Regions from separate parts of the Homo sapiens genome. Here region 1 is linked to region 2. The links are contacts of gene promoters, found by promoter capture Hi-C in blood cells and fetal thymus (Javierre and others, 2016). All regions are on one chromosome and are shown on one strand. The core of a region is centred on a gene start or on the middle of the fragment in contact, and the rest is flanking DNA. Distances in the headings are between cores, read along the strand shown. Region 1 overlaps LGR6 (leucine rich repeat containing G protein-coupled receptor 6). Region 2 holds the start of SYT2 (synaptotagmin 2).

Evidence for each region. The method cuts DNA at HindIII sites, captures the fragments that hold promoters and counts their contacts. A CHiCAGO score of 5 or more calls a contact.
Region 1: a contact is called between a fragment that was not itself captured here and the fragment with the promoter of SYT2 in region 2, in 1 of 17 cell types (M0 macrophages). The highest score is 5.5, in M0 macrophages.

The regions. Positions count from the first base shown.
Region 1 is chr1:202,208,110-202,212,765 of GRCh38, forward strand. All of the region lies in intron 1 of LGR6 (leucine rich repeat containing G protein-coupled receptor 6), which reads left to right. Among named protein-coding and RNA genes, the nearest start is that of LGR6, 17 kb to the left of the region's middle. The HindIII fragment of the contact is 856 bases long and covers 1,731-2,586 here.
Region 2 is chr1:202,708,262-202,712,692 of GRCh38, forward strand. It overlaps SYT2 (synaptotagmin 2), which reads right to left and starts at 2,193. Exons shown (of 9, transcript NM_177402.5): 1 at 1,997-2,193. The HindIII fragment of the contact is 4,026 bases long and covers 1,560-4,431 here.

The DNA of each region.
Region 1 (4,656 bases), core at 909-3,408, 500 kb before region 2:
GAGTCCTCTGGAGGAAGGAGGTGCTTCCAAAGTTTCCCTCCTCCAATTTCGTCGCAACCCTCCTGACTCCAGCAACTGGAACTTTAGGTTTGTTCTCTGGTGGAAGTGGGATCAGGAGACCCTGGGCTAGGACGCTGTCTTTGCCGCCAACATGCTGAGTGCCTTTGGACAAGTCCTCTGATGCCTTTGGGTCTGTTTCCTGTGGGGTGAGAGTTCCTGACCCCAGGATATTACAGAGACAAATGATGGTGTATAAAGAAAGATACAAAGAGGGGAGAGAGAGAGGAGAAGGAGGGGGGAGAGAGAGAGAGAAGGGGCATGAGTGAGCCAATGAAGAGGAGACTGTGATGTGAGGGAGGTGCCAGGGTCCCCTGAGATTTGCAGTGTTCACTCCGTGAGACTTGAGATCCCAGGGGCCGGGATAGGACATGGCCATCATCAGCACCTCGAGGGCTGTGTGCCTACCCAGAACAAGGCCCCCCATTAACTATGTGCAGCCAGTGGAAAGAGGAATGCCTACCCCCCCGCCAGCCGACGCCACGCCAGCCCTCGCCTCGTTGCCCACTCCCCTACTCTGAATGCAGAAGCCCAGGGTGCCACCTCCCCCTCTGCCTGCCCTGCCTCCACCTGCCAGAAAGCATTAGCTTCACTGTCTAGATTGGCATGGGGGCGCAAAGGCACCATGTTGCGGGGCCCAGGGCACCTGCTGGGGGTGGGGCTTGGGGTCAGGAAATACCTGGGCTAACCCCTGGAACCCTAGCATGCCCAGTGCCAATGAGCAAATGGCCCTAGAGCCATAGGGGTAAAGAGTGTAGTAAGAGGGGAAGGCTTGGAAGCTCAGAAACTTGGCCTGGGGAGCCCTTCTGACACCTTACTCCAGCCCCTTACCCCTAACCTCGGCTGGGACCTCCAGATGGGCAGATCAAGTCATTACACCCCACCATTTGCTTAGTGTTTGACCCCCTGGGAATGTGATCACTGGGAAGTTCTTCCTAGAGTCCCTCCTCCTTCCTATCATAGTGTCCCCAAGTTTCCCTCCTATTTTGGCCAGAGGGGAGAGAGCCCAAAGCTAACCCCTTCTTTGTTAGCCCCATAGGCAATGGTGGGGTGACCTGGGTTTCATTTCACTTTCTCCATGAGGAAGGGATCCTGGCCTATAAAGGCAACCTTGGAGACGCCACACCTGCCATCCCCAGGGATCCTGGAGGGGCTGCCTGCTGCTGAGGAGGTCAGAGGCCTCTCCCTGCTCCTCCTCAGAAATCCACACATCCACTCAGCCTGCCCGCCCCACAGTGTTCTGGGCTGCAGCTAGTCCAGGCAACATCTTTGTGAGAAATAGAAAAGGGTGCCCCTTGCCCCAGTGGCCCTACCACGTGGGGAGCGGGCAGAGTTGATGAGTGGGGCAGGAGCAGATTTTGTCCTCTGGTTGGCCCCTTGGCCAGACACCTTTGTCTAGACCAGGCCACAGTGGCATATTTCTATGAGTCAGCCTGGTCAATACTTAGTTAAAAAAAGTGATTTAAAACATATTTATAAAAGATTGCTTAAAGGAGGTTTATTCTATGGATTCCCTTGGATATCCTAAAGCCTTTCACTCGAAGTATGGTTCACAGCCCAGCAGCATAGCATCGGCATCATCTGTGAGTGTGTGAGGAATGCAGAAGCTCAGGCCTCAACCCTGACCTACTGAGCCAGAATCTTCATTTTAGGGTTTGCCAAGCACTGCCTCAAGCTTATTCATGGAATAAGTCAGATCATCAGTGGAGCTGCTGGACAGCCACTCTCTACTCCATCTCCTACAGAAATGCTTTTACCTAGTTTGTACTTAGGTGATGCACCATTGGTTTATATCCAGGTCTATAAGAAACAGCCCTATGGACATCACGGTTGATTTACTGCAAGGATGTGGTGAAGAAATGGGTTCAGACCAGAAGCCTGCTGCTCTGGTGGGGTATTTGGAAGAGGCAAGGAAGCATCAGCTTCATTTAGGATGTAAGGGGCTGACTGAGATGTCTCTTCCTCTGGGAAACCTTCCCTAATCCCTCAACTCTGGGGGAGGCCTCCCCTCTGTGTGCCTGCCCTGCCGCAAGGCTCATTCCCTTGGGTTCAGATTCCTGGTTACTTGTCTGTTTCTCAGACCAGGCTGGGACCCCCAAGAAAGCAGGGGCCTGGCCACCATTGCTCTCCTGGTATCCTCAGTGCTGGCCCAAGCCCTCTGCACATGGATGCTCAAAAATATTGGTGGAATGAGTAAAGAGATGAATGAGTGAATGAATGAATGAACAAATGACTGGCCAGAGGCTGGGAGGTACAGAGCAGAAAAAAAAAAAAAAACAAAAACCCTAGGCTGGAGCAGATGGACCTATTTGAGAGAGAGGGAGGGAGGGCAGCCCTCTTCAGACCTGGTAGTAGCACTAACCTGGCTCCACCACAGGCAGGAGCCCGAGGTGTGGCTTCCAACCCAGACGGCTGCGGTGAGGATGGAGCCGCACTGGGGAGCCTCTTAAGCTGCCAGCCAGTCAGCTCGTGGCCAGGCTTGGGTTTCATTAGAGTGAGACATCTGTTCTATAAACCCTTCCACTTAGAAGCTTTTGCCTTTCCTATTCATTCTCTTGATTTTTTTTAAAGAAAACTTCTTTTGAAAATTTCCATCCAATTCCAAACAAGCTAGGACGAACAAAGGTATGTGCCTGCCCCTAGGCTTGGATAGAGGACTCTAGCAACTTGAGGCTGTGGGTTCTTGAATCTCCACAGTGTGCCCGACACTTGCCTAGGCTCTGAAGATCCCAGATAAGTAAGACTTGAATTTTGCATTAACAGAGATTACAATTGGGTCAGAAAATTACCATTGTGTGCGTTAAGCATGAGGCAGGAGACAAGCATAGGCTGGTTGTGGGGGGACTTAGAAGGTGGGTAGGATGGGGCAGCAGTGGGAAGGAATGTGTCTCATTGTGGAATCCTGTGAAGATCCAGGGAACTGGGGCCAATGGCCAGTTAACCCTGGGAGAGAAGCCTGGCAACACCAAAGCCCATGGCCATGCCAGCAAATCTCAAGTGTTTATTGAGCATCTACTATGTGCCAGAGCCTGGGGAAAGTGCTGGGGATACACAGATGAGTATGATGAAACAATATACAGAAATAAACATCCAATTTCATTTAATGACATAAAAACTGAGAATTATTCATGAGATGCCATGGGAACCTAGAGGGGAGCCCTCAGAAAGCCTGAGGTTCACGAAGACTTTCAGAGTTTGTTTTTTTGAGACAGAGTCTCACTCTGTTACCGAGGCTGGAGTGCAGTGGTGTGATCTTGGTTCACTGCAACCTCTGCCTCCCAGCCCCCCAGGTTCAAGCAATTCTCCTGACTCAGCCTCCCAAGTAGCTGGGATTACAGGCATGTGCCACCACACCCGGCTAATTTTTATATTTTTGTAGAGATGGGGTTTCACCATGTTGGCCAGGCTGGTCTCAAACTCCTGGCCTCCAGTGATCCGCCTGCCTTGGCCTCCCAAAGTGCTGGGATTACAGGCGTGAGCCACTGCGCCTGGCCCAGAGTTTGTTTTTTTAAACTAAATATAATATACATAATAGAAAAGCGTACATATCATAAGTGTATAGCTTGGTACATTTCCATAAGCAAATACACTTGTGTAACCAGCACCTGGACCAAGAAAGAGAACATCATCAGCTTTCCAGAAGCCCTCCACCCCCATGCCCTCTGCTGGTCACTACCCACCCCCACAAAGATAGCAACGATCGTGATTTCTAACAACATAGGTAGGCTGTGCCTGTGTTTTGAACCTTATCATAAATGGGGCATTATTTTGCATCTGGCTTCTTTTCCTCACCATGTTTGAGGATTCACCCATGTTGTTGCTGGTGGTCATAGTTCGTTCATCCTCATTGTGGCATGGTACTTACTATGGGTGAATACAACCCAGTTTACGCATTCCACTGTCGATGGGCAACCAGACATGTTCTAGTTGGGAGTATCATGGCTACCACCGCTATGAGCAGTTTCGTACGGTTGTCTAGTGAGCATATGGATGTGTGTCTGTTGGTTAAGTCCCCAGCAATGGAATTGCTGGATCAGAGTAGATCCAAGGGAGTCTCAAGGGGGTGAGAATGACTTTCCTAGGTGGAGAAGTGTGGGATGGGTCACTGGCTTGGGCCAGTGATGGAGGGCGAGCAGAGGGAAGGACAGGAGGAAGCCACAGTGGGAAGAGGGGCTTGAGGACCAGCAGCACACTGAGGCTCTGCTGATTGTTCCCCGCTTACCTGGGTTAGTTTCCAGTGGCTGCCGTGACAAAGTACCGCAAACTGGGTGGCCTAAAACAACAGAAGTTTATTCTTTCACAGTTCTGGAGGCCAGAAACCCAATATCAAGATGTCAGCAGGGCCACATTCCTGTCAATGGCTCTAGGGGAGAACCCACTGCGTGCCTCTTCCAGCTTCTCGTGGTTACCACATCACTCCAATCTCTGCCTCTGTCTTCACCTCACCTTCTTCTCTGTGTGTGAGCTCTGCGTGTCTACACAAGGGCAATTGACATTGGATTTAGAGCCCACTCAGATAATCCAGGAGGATCTCCTCATCTCAAGATCTCTTACTTAGCTACATCTGCAAAGGCCGTTTTTTCAAGTAAGATCATATTC
Region 2 (4,431 bases), core at 943-3,442:
GACCAAGCTCCTGGACTGCAGAACAAAGCAGACTCCCAGCAGAGTGGTCTGGTCTCTCTTCCTCCAGGGAATGGTGGGCCAGGTCTATGTGAGGCTATAACCTAGAAACTTTCCTCTGCCTCCCTCTCCTCCTCCTTTGGCAAGACAAGGAGGGGAGAAGGTAAGGATTAAGCCCAAAAGATCTCCAGAAAAAGCCAAGCCTCTGGGGGGAGTCCTAGAGGGTGAAGCCAGGGATCTGCCTGGCAGCCAAGCAGAGCAGAGGCAGCCACCCTGAGGGAAAGGTGGTTCAGTCGGGGTTCAGTGGGCACTGGCCATTTTCCAGGGGCATGGGAGGAGATGGGTTGGAGTTGGACTCCCTAGGCTGCAGTGTGCCTGGCGTGGACCCCTGACGCTGACTCACCCCCAGGGCCCTGACACACGCTGCAGCTTGCAGTGCCTGCCAGACCACCACTCTCATTCCACAGGACCAGGATGCCAGGCACGTCCCACTGCATCAGAGCCACCCTGCCCCCTTCCACCTGCCACTCGGGCCCGCCTTTGGGGCACTGGGCATGGCTTTTTTCAGCACCTCTGCTGGTCACAGAGATGTTTCTAGCAGCCCCAAAGCTGGACTTAGTCTTAAGTAGGGAGAGATGGTTGAAAGGATTAAGGGCTTCCCTGCTTCTGTCACCCCCTCTAATGAAGTGCCAGGTTATGGGGATCCAGACAGATTGGATGGAGGACAATCTATTCCACCTGGGAGAGGCCCCGCAGGGCGGCAGCAGTAGGGGAGGGAGAAGGGCACCCTTTTGCTTTCCAGGTCAGACCCCAGTTCACCTTTCTGGCTTCCTGGGCGCCCCCAGATCCTAAGGACTTCCTCCTCCTTATAAGCTAACTCAACCTGTACTACCTGCCCACGGGGCCTCTGCCCTTCCCTCCCCACTGCAGTGGCCCCTCCTGGGCCAGCACCTCTTCTGTCCTTGCACTCCCTTCTCCTGCTGCGGGGAGAGCACCTACTCTGCCACCTCAGCCAGGGGTAAGGGAGGACACTGCCCTGCCAGGAGACACCCCACGAGCCATGGGCTGGGGGTGTCCTGGAGGCACCTGTGGAATGTGGGGATGAAAAGGGAGGAGACAGGATGAGGGGGCCTGGCTTAGTGGGATGTGAAACGATAAAGCTCCACTTTTTAGTTGAAAAATAAAAGCCCTGTGCCCCAGAGGTGGGGGAAGGAGCATAGGCAGGGGAAGGGGGCACCCCAAATGGGAAAGGTACATGGAAGAGTCCAGAAAAGGGAGTCGGGCTGTCAGCACCCGCCAGGCTGCGAGCCTAGCCCTTGGGGACAGAGCTGAAGCAGGGACGGGGCGTCCTAGGTCGTGCTGAGTCATGAGATTTGGAGAGAGGGGAGGGGCGCCTCCAGCCCCTTCTTGGGCCCCTGCCCCAGCTCCTCGTGCCCGTTGCTTCCAGATGGCCCCTGCAGTCTGTCTCCCCAACCTCTCCCTGACCCAGGGTCTCCGGCTCCCAGCGCCCAGACCCCACCCCCCGCCCCACTTCCCACGACGGCGGTGCCAGGGGTCCCCGAAGCTTGAGACTGGGGCAAAAGAACCTTCCTTGGAGACCGCTAGGGCTGGCGGGGGCTGGGCTAGACGCGAGTGGGTTCGTCCCAGGGAAAGGAGAGAGGGACGGGGGCGCAGAGCCGGCCGGTGCAGGGGACGCGTGGCCCGCCCCTCTCTGCAGCAACCCGCGGGAGGAAATCTGCCCCCAGCCCAGCCCCAGTCCCTCAGAGGAGCCGGCTCCTCGCCCCTCGGGTCCGACTCCCCGAGACGAACCTTCCATCCGGACGCTTCCAAACTCCCCCAAAGGACGGGGCAGACTCCCGGCCCCCTTGGCCTCAAACTTCCCCAACCCTACTCACCTCTCGGGACCCAGACCACCCCGTGGCCCCTCGACTCAGTAGCAGGAAAGGAGAAACTTTGGAGAGGGAGGTCCGTGCCCCCACCGGCGGGGGTATGGACTTACCGGAGAGCGACCCGAAGGAGGCGGGAGAGATCCGGGGTCTCCAATGTGAGGGGGCGTCGGACGGCAAGGACGCGTGGCTGGCGACGGTTTCGCAGGGGCGCCCGTTCCCCTGGGGGCGCGAAGTCCCCGCTCCACCGCTGCCCCAACTCGGCTCCGAAGTGCCTTTGCCGCAAGACTTGCTGAGCTTAGCAGTCTGCGCCGAGGCGGCAGAGGGAGGGGGCCTGATCGATGGGCGCGCGCGGCGAGCGCTGCAGTGAGGGGAGGAGACCAAGCGGCGTGGGAGGGCGGGGACCGAGGCGGAGGAGGCCCGGAGGAGGCGGAGGGCGGGCCTGCCCCCCGGGACGGGTTCTTTCTGCGCAGCCCCCCAGGCGCTCGGCGCCCCCGCCTCCTGCTCAAGGTCAAGGAGGCTGCTTCCCCAGCAGGAAGGCGGACTGGAAAGGAGCTCTATACTCCCCACCCCAGAAGGCTGGTCTCCTTTCTAGCCAGCTCCTTCTCTCCAACTTCCCGAACCCACTGCAGCTCAAGGCTAAATTATTGGGCTCAGGAGCCCCCATCCCCATGGCCATTTTGGGATCCCTGAGCCCCTAGCCTCCCCTCCTCCCCTCTCCGCTTAGGTCACCGCTACCTATATTGGCCACCTGGATGGTGGGGGCTTCTGAGCCTAAAGGTTGGGTGAGAGAGAGGAGGATGCTTGAGAGAAGACAGCGGTGCCTGAGGCCTATGGAAATAGAACAGCGGAGGGGAGAGTAAGAACTGCAGGGTGACAAGGAGAGAGGAGCTGGAAGACGGTAGAAAGAAAAGGAGGACGCTACTGGTTATTAAAGACAGGGTGTTCACACATGTTAGTTTGCTTAATACGTAAGACATCCCTTTAAGGTGGGCATTTTGCGTGGGCAGTTTGCAGGTGGGGAAACAGTCCCTGAATGGTGCGTTGGACCAAGGAGCTGCAGACAGTTAAGTGGTGGCATTTCGGAAGAGCCTGGGAGAAAGAGAAGGGTGGCAAGGGCAAAACAGAGCCCTTCCTAACCTACCCAGGAGCTGCCAGGGCAGCACCAGAACTTCCTTACAGCACAATTTGAATATCCGCTTTAACTCTTTTGGAGTTAACTTTTTTTTTTCTTTTTTTTTTAGACAAGTCTCACTCTGTTACCCAACCTGCAGTGCAGTGTGCAGTGGCGCGATCTTGGCTCACTGCCACCTCTGCCTCCTGGGTTGAAGGGATTCTCCCGCCTCAGCCTCCCGAGCAGCTGGGATTACAGACGTGCGCCACCACACCCGGCTAATTTTTGTATTCTTAGTAGAGATGGGGTTTTGCCATGTTGGCCAGGCTAGTCTCGAACTCCTGACCTCAAGGGATCCACCCACTTCAGCCTCTCAAAGTGCTGGGATTACAAGCATGAGCCACTGCGCTTGGCCTGGAGTTAACTTTTATAATAGGACTGTAGCATCCTGCCTCGCTTTTGGGTACAAAACCGTACATGGCCTGAGGTCAGTCTTCAATACGTACTAGGTGAGTGAGTGAGAGGTGGAATGAATGCAATATGAGGAGATGCAAAGAACAAGTGGGATTCAGGCTTTGGGGAGAGAAGAGGCAGTGGAGGGCACTTTTCAGATCACTGTGCCAATAATACCAGGTGTTACTGGCAGACCATCCCCAGTTGGAGACTATCCCCAGTTTGGCTTGCCTCAGAGCAAGGCGGCAAGTGGCTGCCGACTCAGTGGATGTTACGAAAAAGGTGGGGGAAGACCTCTGGGGAGTCCTCAATCAGGCTGAAGCTGTGCTCACAGCCCCTGAGGCACAGAGGCCCTCCCCCTTCACCTGTGGAGCAGCCAGAACAAGGGCAGTGGAGGAAATGGGGAGCCAAGTTACAATGGACTAATGAGACCTTTACATTCAAAGAGGTTACCCACCACCCCCACCCTTAGCCAGGTGTGTTCCAGGACTTGTTGCTTCCCCAAAGGGGCTGGCTCTACTCTATTCATTCCTTCCTGCTCCCCATGCCAACAACCAGTATCTGCAGGACTCCAGCCAGAAAGAGGGCTGCAGCCCCCTCGCACAGAATCAAGCCAAGCGAACTGGCCTGATGCGCTTCAACTTTTCCACGGCAGCAGACTCAGCTGCCTACTGTTCTGATCAAAGCCTTGTGTCAATCTGGTGCCCCAGCTTCTTCTCCTAAGCACGTCAGAGGAAGCCAGCCTGCCTTCCCAGGCTATTAGGAGAGTCAGAGCTGTAATCAATTTGGTTAAATGAAAAATGTGGTGTCGCTGGCTACAGCCTTAATGTTCTTTTAATTCATCAGGACCAGTAGTGTCTGGGTTACAAACCTAATCAAGAGCTCAACATCCCTCTTGCTTATTCCCCCAGGCTTCAGGAGCTGGAAGAGGAAAGAATGGAAAAGACATCCACCCCCTCCACACCCAGCCTATTATTAGAT